2 separate regions of the Homo sapiens genome follow, and region 1 is linked to region 2. The links are contacts of gene promoters, found by promoter capture Hi-C in blood cells and fetal thymus (Javierre and others, 2016). All regions are on one chromosome and are shown on one strand. Each heading gives the region's core, a stretch centred on a gene start or on the middle of the fragment in contact. The rest is flanking DNA. Distances are from core to core; before and after follow the strand shown. Region 1 has its middle 7.0 kb from the start of CLPB. Region 2 holds the start of PDE2A (phosphodiesterase 2A).

Region 1 (6,038 bases), core at 3,108-5,607, 230 kb before region 2:
CTCAAAAAACAAACAAACACACAAAAAACTCTTAGGTCACATTTTAACAGATTTTCAACGCAGGATGGCTTCCTTTTGGTCTGCTCAGAAAGCAAAAATTTATATCAGGTTCCAATGACCCCACCTTGGCCCTAAGCTTCTAACTGTTGGGTTGGGAGAGAGAGAACTCCAGTTTTAGTTTGTAGGAAGGTGACTGGGGGATATCTGAATGGGGTTTAGGAGGAGACAGAAAGTGAAGAATCAATGCAGTTGCTGTGGTCAGCTGCCTCTGGCATGGAGTTGGAGGCCATTTGGTGCTACACATTCTATAGGTTTCTGAGAAAAACTTTTCCAGAAAAAGAAAACAAAACAACAACACACACACACATTTTTAAACAAATAAGTAAATAGATAGTAGCTGGGCTTTTCACTGTTGGAGAAAGAAGTTATAAATAGGGAAAAAAAGAAAGCTAAAATGAACCTTGTGGTATTGAATTGGAATCAGATGTATCAGCATAAACTCATGGCTTTAATTTTATTTTTACTTTATTTATTTTTGAGACGGAGTCTTGCTCTGTCATCCAGGCTGGAATGCAGTGGCGCGATCTTGGTCACTGCAGCCTCCGTCTCCCAGGTTCAAGTGATTCTCCTGCCTCAGCCTCCTGAGTAGCTGGGATTACAGCAATGTACCACCGCCCAGCTAACTTTTGTATTTTTAGTAGAGACAGGGTTTCGCCATGTTGGCCAGACTGGTCTCGAACCAGCCTGATTGGTCTCAATTGGTTATTGACCATATGGTTTTGCCACGTTGGCCAGGCTGGTCACAAACTCCTGACCTCAAATGATCTGCCTGTCTCAGCCTCCCAAAGTGCTAGGATTACAGGTTAGAGCCACCATGCCCAGCTGTAAAACTCATGGTTTTTAAAAATAGATACAGACAGATCAATACAGAAATATAAATATGTAAGTATGTATGGGTTCGTGTATTACATATATTACCTAGCCTCTGGGAGGGTCTAGAAGCAATTACACCCTAAAAATTGAACACACCTAACACCCAGACATAAACAGCATTCTCCAATAACCCAGAAACCAGTTACCCTTGGAGAATGGTTGTTTTCAGGACTGGGCAGAGAAAATCCAAAATGAGTCAACAACATCGTATGTGCCAGGAAGTTAGGAAAGGCTCAAAACCAGATGCAGGCTTGTGAAAAGAACACAGGAGCCAGTGTGAAGGAGTTCATAATGACCTAAGTAGGAACAATTTAACTGAAAAGTAATGACCATATGGGGTTTTGATCCACAGAGTAAAACAAATATGATATAAATAATCAAATAAATAAATAGATAAATAGGGGAGGAATGAGGGAAGAGGCAGCTTTCTTTCTTTCTTTTTTTTTGAGACGGAGTCTCGCTCTGTTGCCCAGGCTGGAGTGCAGTGGCGCGATCTCGGCTCACTGAAAGCTCTGCCTCCCGGGTTCACACCATTCTCCTGCCTCAGCCTCCAGCTGGGACTACAGGCGCCCGCCACCATGCCCGGCTAATTTTTTTTTTTGTTGTATTTTTAGTAGAGACGGGGTTTCACTGTGTTAGCCAGGATGGTCTCGATCTCCTGACCTTGTCATCTGCCCGCCTCGGCCTCCCAAAGTGCTGGGATTATAGGCGTGAACCACCACGCCTGGCCCGAGGCAGCTCTTTCTTACAGTGGAAGTTCAATCAATAAATGTAGAAGAAAGAGAGAAATAGAGAATTACCACTAGGCAGACACTGGAGTAATACAAATTTCAGGCTGGGCACAGTGACTCATGTAGTGACTAATGCCTGTAATCCCAGCACTTTGTGAGGCCAAGGCAGTAGGAGGATCACTCGAGGCCAGGAGTTTGAGACCAGCCTGGGCGACAAAGTGAGACCCTGTCTATACAAAAATATAAAATAAAAAAATTAGCAGAGCAGGGTGGCACACACCTGTTGTCCCAGCTACTTGGGAGGCCGAGGCGGAAGGATTGCTTGAGGCGAGGAGGTCAAGGCTGCAGCAAGCCTTCATCGCACCACAGTGCTCCAGCCTGGGTGACAGAGCAAGACCCTGTCTCTAAAAACATAAATAAAAATAAACATTTCAGGCAAGATCCATAGATGATACTAAAATTAGTGGGTGACAAGGAGGAGAAACAGAATTTATATAGTCTCAAAAGTACTTCCTGCAGCCGGGCACGGTGGCTCACGCCTGTAATCCCAGCACTTTGGGAGGCTGAGGCAGGTGGATCACAAGGTCAGGAGTTCAAGACCAGCCTGGCCAAGATGGTAAAACCCTGTCTCTACTAAAAATACAAAAATTAGCCAGGCGTGCTGGCAGGCGCCTGTAATCCCAGCTACTCGGAAGGCTGAGGCAGGAGAATCACTTGAACCCGGGGGGTGGAGGTTGCAGTGAGCCGAGATTGCGCCACTGCACTCCAGCCTGGGCAACAGAGTGAGACTTCCTCTCAAAAAAAAAAGTACTTCCTGCAAGATAATTATGAACTACAAAAACTTTACAGTGGGGAAAACCTGGCAGACACCAATTTAACTACATGATCAAAGGTAAATATCACCAGTAATAAGACATATACACAACAGACAAAATGAATCCCTTGATATGATGCACTGGGAAGAACACATCGTTTTTGTTCATTCTCATCAAGCATATATAACCTCATTCCAAACATGAGAAAACATCAGACAAACACATATTGAGGGATATTCTACAGATAACTGATTTATATTATTATTTGTATTAGTTTTCTATTGCTGCAAAACAAAGCACCATAAACTGAGCAGCTTAAAACAATTGCCATCTAATATCTCACAGTTTCTATGGGTCTGGAGTCTAGCATATTCTAACTATGCTCTGCTCTGGGTCTGAAATCAAGGTGTCGGCCAGCTGCATTCACATCTGGAGGCTCAATTAGGGAAAGGTAGTTTTTCTTTTTGTTTTTTGAGATGGAGTTTCACTCTTGTTGTCCAGGCTGGAGTGCAGTGGTGCAATCTGAGCTCACTGCAACCTCCACCTCCCAGGTTCAAATGATTCTGCTACCTCAGCTTCCCAAGTAGCTGGGATTACAGGTGCACGCCACCACACCCAGCTAATGTTTTTGTATTTTTAGTAGAGACAGGGTTTCACCATGTTGGACAGGTTGGTCTCGAACTTCTGACCTCAGGTGATCCACCCATCTTGGCCTCCCACAGTGCTGGGATTACAGGCATAAGCCACCATGCCCACCAGGCAAAGGTAGTTTTTCAAGCTGCCTTACACTGTTGGTTGAAATCATTTCCTAGCAGCTGTGGGACTGAGGCTGTATTGCTAGCCAGCAGCAGCTGAGAACCTCTCAGCTCCTGGAAAAAACTCTTGGGTCTTTGCCATGTAACCACTTCCTTAGATTCTCTCATACTTGCAAGCAAGCTTCTCTGACTTCAGGAAGGGCCTGGTTATTTTAAAGGGCTCACCTGATTAGATCAGGCCCACCCAGATAATCTCTCTTTTGATAAGTCAAAGTGAACCGATAAGTAATGTTATCACAGGAGTGATATCCCATCACATTCACAGGTTCTGCCTGTACTCAAGAGTGTATACAAGGTATGTACATTCAGCGGTGGAAACCTTAGGGATCATCTTAGAATTCTGCCTGTCACAGTACTCTGCAAAAGTGTCAAGGTCACGAAAGATAAGGAAAGACTGAGAAGCTGTTACAGACTGGGGATTGAGAAGAAATAAATACTAAATGCACTGTGTAATCATGGATAGGACCAGGGAACAGAAAAGGGACATTAGTGGGAAAATTGATGAATTTCAAATAAATTCTAAGGTTTAGTTAATGATATTGTATAAATGTTAATTTCCTGTTCTTGATCATTGTATTATGGTTATATAAGATGTTCACATTGGGGAAGTGGAGTGGAGGATATAAGAGAACTCTTTGGGCTGTGCATGGCGGCTCATGCCTATAATCCCAGCACTTTGGGAGGCCGAGGCCGGCGGATCACAAGGTCAGGAGATGGAGACCATCCTGGCTAACACAGTGAAACCCCCTCTCTACTAAAAAATACAAAAAATTAGCCGGGCATGGTGGTGGGCGCCTGTAGTCCCAGCTACTCGGGAGACTGAGGCAAGAGAATTGCTTGAACTGGGAGGCGGAGGTTGCAGTGAGCCGAGATCGTGCCACTATACTCCAGCCTGGGCGACAGAGCAAGACTCCGTCTCAAAAAAAAAAAAAAAGAATTCACTTTCTGCTGATCCTGCTGCATATTGCCATAGCACTGTCTTCAGGTCCACTCTTCTACAATTCTTCTTTGGAATAACTAAGACAAAATGATTTATTATTAATAATAACAGGAAGTTTTATTAAGTATTTTCTATGTTCCAGCCACTGTGCTGAGTAAGTGAACCACATCAATTATCTATATAAATGATCAGGTAAGTTTCTCCCAGGTTTGGTAGGCATGTTTTCCATGTGATCTCTCCAGTCAATGAAGGCACAATCCCTCAGTGATAGCAGGTAAACCACATCTGAGAAATCTTGGAGAAACTCATCTAAGCATTTTTCAAAAATAGAAGTTAACAGCTACTGAATATTGAGCATGTATTCTGAGTCTGGCATTGTGCTAATAAGCACTTTACATGAATAAACTCAATCCCTACATTAACACAAGTTAGAGACTAGTAGCATCACAGGCTTATGTTGAGTCAGAGCCCAAAGTCTTAGCCATTACACAACTTTTCCTAACGAAGGAACTTGTGTGTGTGTGTGTGTGTATGTGTGTGTGTAAAGTCTTCTGCATTACTTTTTCTCAAAAATATTGAACACTTTCCTTATTCACAAATAGAAGATAGTAAATACAATTTAATCTTTTCCTGATAAAGGTTATTGCTATCCTGATTTTTGTATCACATGATAGATGTAGAACTCTTAAGCACTAACTCAAATCATGCTCTGAAAATAAACAAATCTCTTAATTGCCTCCTTTTCTTGTCATCTGTTTCTTTCCCATAGAATCAAAGTGTAGCATGTGGCCTCTGGGCAGGGTAATATGTCCTCTTATTACATTAAAGATGAGAATTTAGTTTGTGATAAATCTGGCACTTTACGTAAGTGGGGAAAATATTAATTATTTAATAAACAGTGTTGGGACAACTAGGTGGCCAACTGGGGAAAAAATAAATTAGATTTGTCTCACCCCTTCACCAAAATAAATGCCAACTGAATCAAAAGACTTAAATGTGAAAAAGAAACAATAAACATGCCAGTAAGAAAACATGAAGTGATTTTTCAAAATAACTTTGGAGTAGGGAAGCTTTCTAAGCACGACACAAAATTCAGACCCACAATAGCAAAGACTGATGTATTTGACTCTACAAGTAATTATTCTGATTGAAAAATACCATGAACAGTAAAAAATGTAAATGATAATCTCGGAAGAATATATTCACACCACAATGATGGAGGGTTAAGTAATACAGAGAACTCTTATAAAATATGAAAAAGACCTACAATGCAGTAAGTGAACAAAGACAATGCCTCTGCTAGCTTATGCAGTGCCTCTGGGAAAAGTAAAGAAAGCAGCCATCTCAGGATGAATTAGAAAAAGGGGCCCCTAAGCAGTGTACATGTCCCAGGGAGCAGCATGCTGCCAGACTGCAGCCTCCACTTCTCCTATTGGTTTAGGCTTTTGAGTGGCACACGAACTGCATATCCAAACACAGCTGCCTGGGCAAAGGACTTGACCAAAGACCTCATGAGAAATGAAATATAAATCATATTTAAATATATGAAAATATGCTCAATACACCCATGACAAGAAACATACAAATTAAAACTATAGTGATCCATATCTTACAGCATATACAAAAATGAACTCAAAATGAATTATTGTCCTAAATGTAAAACCTAAGACTCCAAAATTTCTTGAAGAAAACATAGGAGAAAATCTTTGTGGCTTTGGATAAAGCAGATTTCTTAGATACAACATGAAAAACACAATGCATAAAAGAAAAAAAAAAAGATCAATTTGACTTCATCAACATTAGG
Region 2 (5,688 bases), core at 211-2,710:
TCAGATGAATACACACATATAGATACACACACACACCAGCCACAGAAGCACCGATATACACACTAGCACCATGATCACACACCCACACCAGAATACTTATACGCACACAGCCACATCCACCTCCACACACAGCAATGCTATTATTCACACACTAACAAATACACACACATAAATGCACATGGAACAGATAAAAAATGCACACTGATTCACTCTATTTTGCAGACACAACACACATAATATACAAACTCAACCTAATAGACACACCTACATACATATGCAGACCAACCTGCACTCACACTCAGACACATGCGAATAAACTCTCACTCACACAGGGATGATCACAAACTCTGACAGGCTGCTTTACATCCAACCACCAAGGACCCTAGAGCTCTACAGGCCCCTCTACACCCAACATGTCCCTTACATTCCACATGTATACACACACACACACACACACATACCCTGCCTACCACCTCGGCAGCCCTTAGTAGAGGGGTGTCGCCACGGCGCCCCCCACTCACTTGCACATGCACCCCCCTGCACGTGGACACACACGAGGCTGGCACCATATTCCATCTGGCTCCGTAGAACCCTATCCTGGGACAGACGCTTTGGGGTAAAGTTTCATAAAGTGGTGTCCCTGAACCCCAATTCCCAATTCCATGGAAGGTGGTTACCTCTAACCCTCTCTTGCTCCAGGGCCACTCTTATTCATATTTTCTCCATCTTTCCCCCTCCCCACCTCCTTCACACACACATAGCCTTGGTGGGCCAAGACACTCTCCCTCTCCGGGTCCTGAACCAGCCTATTGCAGCCCCGAGAGCTCCTCCCAACTACTTGGCAGACCTCCCCCTCCCCACATACACCCTCAGCCCTTGAAGAACCGGTTCAGGTTCATTATCAGCCCCTCCTCCAACCAGCAGCCCCTTCCATGGGACCCCAGCCTCATCACCTACTAGGTTGACGTTAGACACCCTCATTCTGCTCAGAGGTAACCTGCCCCCACCCCAGGCTGCAGTCTGGCAACGCGGGGAGGAGGGGTGCCCAGGAACAGGATCGATCCTTCCACGTGGCTCAGCTCCATGCCAACCCCAGCTCCTTGGAGGGACTCCCAGGACCCTGTCTGTGGCACCTCTCACAGCCGCTCACCACCCCAGCCCCTCACTATACTCACGGCTCAGCCGGTCGCGCTGCCGGGTACTGCTGGCTCCTGCAGAGGATGGAGTGGCCGCATGCCTGCCCCATCACTCCTCATCGTCCGCCTCCCCAGCCAGACTAAGGTGGCACCTCGCCCTGTCCCCGCTGCCTGGAGTTCAGGGCAGGGCACCCCCAGCAGGCACAGGGACCAAGAGCAGTGGGCTGCCCCCTACTCAGCCTGGACTCAACACCCCAATCCAGCTCTGCTGCCCCGCTGCTCCCGCCTCTCCCGCTGCCACTGCCTCTGCTGCTCGGCTGGCTCTGGGAGGAGGTTGGAGCAGGTCTGATAATGCAGAAGGGGGAGGGAGGAGGGAGGAGGAACAGAGAGAGGCCCAGACAGAGAGGGAGAGAGGGAGAGAGGGAGGGGTAGAGAGAGAGTCTGACTGGGAGAGAGGAAAAAAGACTCACAGACAGAGAGACTGAGAGATAAACAGAGACAGGAAGGGGGACAGTAACACATGAAGAGGGAGAGGAGAGAGGGATCAGAGCCTTAGCGAGATCAAGATGGAAGTACAAAGAGACCAGAGAGGCATAGAGAAACACACACACAGAGGAACAAAGGCAGAAAAGGAAAAAAAATCAGAGGCAGAAATAGAAAGAGAGTGGGGTAGGGGGAAAGGGGAGTGGCTGACAGAGGAGAGAGGGGAGAGGACGAGGGATTTACAATCCTCATGGGCTAGGATGGGGCTGGGGACTTGAGGGGCAGCAGACCCAGACCCTCTGCTGCCCCATCGCAGAAGCCTTCAGGATGAGGGGACACGCTTGTGCCCTCAAGTCTGAGAGATCAGGCCTCCATGCACAGCTAGCTGCCCTCTCCTCTGGGCTCCCTCACCCGGTGTGTATCATCTCCTAGCGTGCATCCCAGCCTGGAGCTGGGTCCACGGAAGACTTAGGGGGCTTTACTGATGGCCTTTGGACTCAGAGCCTTGTCACAGGGCCCACCTCTTGGTGGCTTGGTTTAGCTGGGACTTGGAGCTGATGCGTGAGCATGGACTTCTACCAGGATCTGTGGAGACCTAGGCCACAGCCTGCCCCACATGGCCTTCGCTGCTCACAGACTACAGGCATGGGGGAAGGCCTGTTGCACCCCCACCCTGCTTCCAAAGAGGACTCCCTAGGATAAAGCTATAACCTAGTGAAATAGAGGCATTTTAGGCCCTAGGACAGATAGAGAGTTGTCACAGCAGAGCTACTATTGTATGCAGGAGAAACAGCTCCACACCTTGAGGCAGGAAATGGGGATTTGGATCCTGGCTTCACCATTAACTTACTTATTCATTGGCCTACCAGTGGCTGAGCTCATGGCTCACACTATCCCTTGTCTCAGAGAAGCACTCGGGCTGGGGAGTGGGGAGGGGAGACTTGCAGGCTGTGACAGAAAGAAGCACAGGGTCTGTGAAGCCCAGAGGGACCCCTGACCTAGTTTGGGTGGTGGGGGGGCGGTTAGCAAGCATTTCTGGAAGAGAGGGTCCAAGCTGGGTCTTTTAAGGCAGAAGAGGGTATATTCCAGGGTAGAGGAGCTACAGCAAACCCTCCACAGCAACCCCATCTCTCTGAGCTGTGGGGAGAATACCTCCCCGCCACACAACAGGCTTCAAGCAGAGAAGTCCCTGAGGCTGAATAGAAACCTGACCCATGTTGAAGAACATGGGGGTGCACGGTGGAGGGGGCAAGGTCAGAAATGACTGAGCTTGTGTAGATGGCCTGCCCAGGCTGGGTGCTGCAGAAAGCAGTTGTCTTGTGGCCTGGGAAGTGTCAGGAAAGAAAATATGAGGAGTCTTTGCTTCCCACTGTGGCCCCAGAAGGCATCATAGAATTTTAGATCTCTGAACTCTGGGCAAACCATTTTCTCAAAGGGAACGAGGCCCAGGCTGGTTGTAAAGCAGCTGAGCCAGCCCAGAACTCATGTCTTGCTTCTCCACCTCACCTATCACTGGGGCCTCGCTGCTCCATTCCTGACAGCTAGGAAGGCATTCTCTGGGCTCAGGAAGCTGCAGCCCTGGACCATGGCGTCCTGCTCCCTCACAGCTCCCCTTCATGTCCTGGGAACCTGCTCACTGGTCGGAGGAACCTGGCAGCAAGAAGCTGAGTCAGAAGAGTTCAAAGGAGGGTTCCTCCTGGGCATGCATGGGTGCAGGTGTGACGAGGTCTCACCTGGCCCTCAGCCTCCTTTCTGCCCTCCCACTTCAGAAACAATGGTGGTGGCCTCATCTTCAGAAATCTCCTGGGAATACACTCAAGCAAGCAGGTGGAAGGGAAGGTCTCCTCCCCATCCCACTGCCACACCAGACTCCACAGCCACCCAGAAGTGGAGAGTCTGCAGGAACAAACTGCAAGATTCAGGACTCAGAAGGGCTAATGGGCACTCAGGACTTAGAGCCCGGCAGGTGGAATTCAAATCCCAGCTCTGCCAAGTGCCTAGGCAAGGTATTTCACCTTCCTGAACTTCAATTTAGTTTCCTCATCTGAAATATGGGGTCACGAATTCCAAGCTCAAAAGGTTGTGAGGTTTTGGGAATGTCTGAAAAGTTCCCAGTAAATAGTTGCCCCTCTCCTCCCATCTCATTTCCTGAAGTCGTCAGGAGAGTAATAGCCCCAAATGCTGGGATAGGGGCTCCTGTAGGCCAGTGCCGGGATGGGGGAGGTGCATAAAGGGGAGAGAGCTGGAGAAAATCCAAGATTGTTTTTCCCTCCTCCATCAATTGCCTGCCTGCAAGACCGCTCCCAGACGGAGCCAAAGGCCCGACTGCTCTGACTGCGCGCCCCTACCCCCGCCGCAGGCCCCGCCCCGGCCACAGGCCTCTCTCCAGGGTGCTGAACCCTGCGAGCCGTGTTCACAAGACCTGCCCGCCCCGCCGCCCTGCCGGGAGTCAAGAAACACCGTTTTTTGTTAGCTGGGGAACTGGAGGTGGGATGGCAGGAAGGATGCTCCTGGGAGGTAGGGTGGCTGCCCAAAGCGATGGGAAGATTCAGTTCTGGAATCCGGCCTCCGCGCTGCCCCCATAGCCTTGAGAGGACTGCAGGCTCCACAGGCTTCAGCTACCTCTTTGCCGAAGAAGGCGGCTTCTTCTCAGCGCCCGCCCCCGCCCCGTCCTGCGCGGCTGTTTCCCTCCCACCTTCCAGACGGCCCCTCCTCTGTCTCCCTCACTGGTGCACCCTATCTTCGCCCCCTCAATATGGATGCTCCTTGCAGGACGGCGGCCCTGTCTCTCCTCATTCTCCACCCTACTCCCACGGAGCATGCAGCCTTCTCCCAGCATACCAACAACTCCGGGTGTCCCCTGCTGCCCATCCCTCTCCCTGGAGCTCCAGGTGTCCAGGCTGTCTCTTGGACATCTCCTCTGGGAACAACCCGTAGGTCCCTCAAATATTGAACATCCAATACACCTTTTGTTACTATTAAAGGCATCAGCAAACTTCTTAGTTTTTTGTTTTTTGGGTTTTTGTTTTGTTTTTGAGACGGAGTCTCGCTCTGTCACCCAGGCATGGGGAAGGGGTGGAGTGGGGAGTGCAGTGGTGCGATCTGGGCTCACTGCAACCTCTGCCTCCCGGGTTCAAGCAATTCTCCTGCCTCAGCCTCCTAAGTAGCTGGGACTACAGGCACCCGCACCACGCCCGGCTAATTTTTGTATTTTTAGTAGAGACGGGGTTTCACCATATTGGCCAGGCTGGTCTTCAACTCCTGACCTCGTGATCTGCCTGCCTTGGCCTCCCAAAGGCATCAGCAAACTTCCAATCTCTGAGCTGGACACTTCAAAGTCGCCTTGCCCCATCCCTCTCCTACACTTCCTGTATCGTTTGTTCCAAAGGACAGTAGATTCTCTTAGATCCATCCACTCCCTCCATCCCCACCCCCTGCTTCCTTCCCCCTCCCCTGGTCATGCTCCAACCCTTACCCCAGGTCAACCTCTCTACTCCACCTCCTCCTTGCACCTAGAGGCGGCTTCCAAAGACATCTATCTGGTAATGGAATTCCCTCTCAAAACCTTTGCAGGGCTCCCCAGTGCCCTCAGGATAAAGGCCAAGCTCCTCAGCCTGGCATTTGAGGTCCCTTGTGATCCAGCCCTGACTGACCTCACCATCCTCTGCTCCAGGTGGGGCCAGGTCTGGTCCCTAAGCACACTCTGGTTCTCTCCTCCTCGACTTTGTACAGTGTTTCTCCTCCCAGGCCGACTTCCCCCTCCTCTTCCTTTTCTCTGCCTATCCCAAATCCTAGCCCACCATTGCTGGGCCAGTCAGCACACACCCTGCCTCCCACCCACAAGGACAGGTAGGCAGGAAGGGGCATTGGATTCTGGGCTAGAGACCCTTGGTGGCCTCTCCCTTCCCTAATGTCTCACCCCCCGACCCCCTCTCAGGCTCATCTCATTTCTTCTACAGGATCCTGTTAGCTCAAAAGACAAGCCAAAGTCCTATGTACCTCGGCCCCAGTCCACAGCCTTTGGGTAGCCCGCAACAGGCCCAAGCAGGAAATGTTGATGGAGAAAAGT

What was found. The method cuts DNA at HindIII sites, captures the fragments that hold promoters and counts their contacts. A CHiCAGO score of 5 or more calls a contact.
Region 1: a fragment that was not itself captured here is called in contact with the fragment with the promoter of PDE2A in region 2 in 1 of 17 cell types (endothelial precursors); the score reaches 6.5 in endothelial precursors.

Annotation. Positions count from the first base shown.
Region 1 is chr11:72,438,502-72,444,539 of GRCh38, forward strand. No RefSeq gene overlaps it. Among named protein-coding and RNA genes, the nearest start is that of CLPB, 7.0 kb to the left of the region's middle. The HindIII fragment of the contact is 1,889 bases long and covers 3,414-5,302 here.
Region 2 is chr11:72,672,962-72,678,649 of GRCh38, forward strand. It overlaps PDE2A (phosphodiesterase 2A), which reads right to left and starts at 1,461. Exons shown (of 31, transcript NM_002599.5): 1 at 1,176-1,461. The coding sequence starts at 1,246. RefSeq lists enhancers at 30-656, 657-1,282, 1,283-1,909, 1,910-2,534, 2,685-3,185 and a silencer at 4,046-4,095. The HindIII fragment of the contact is 6,386 bases long and covers 1-5,688 here.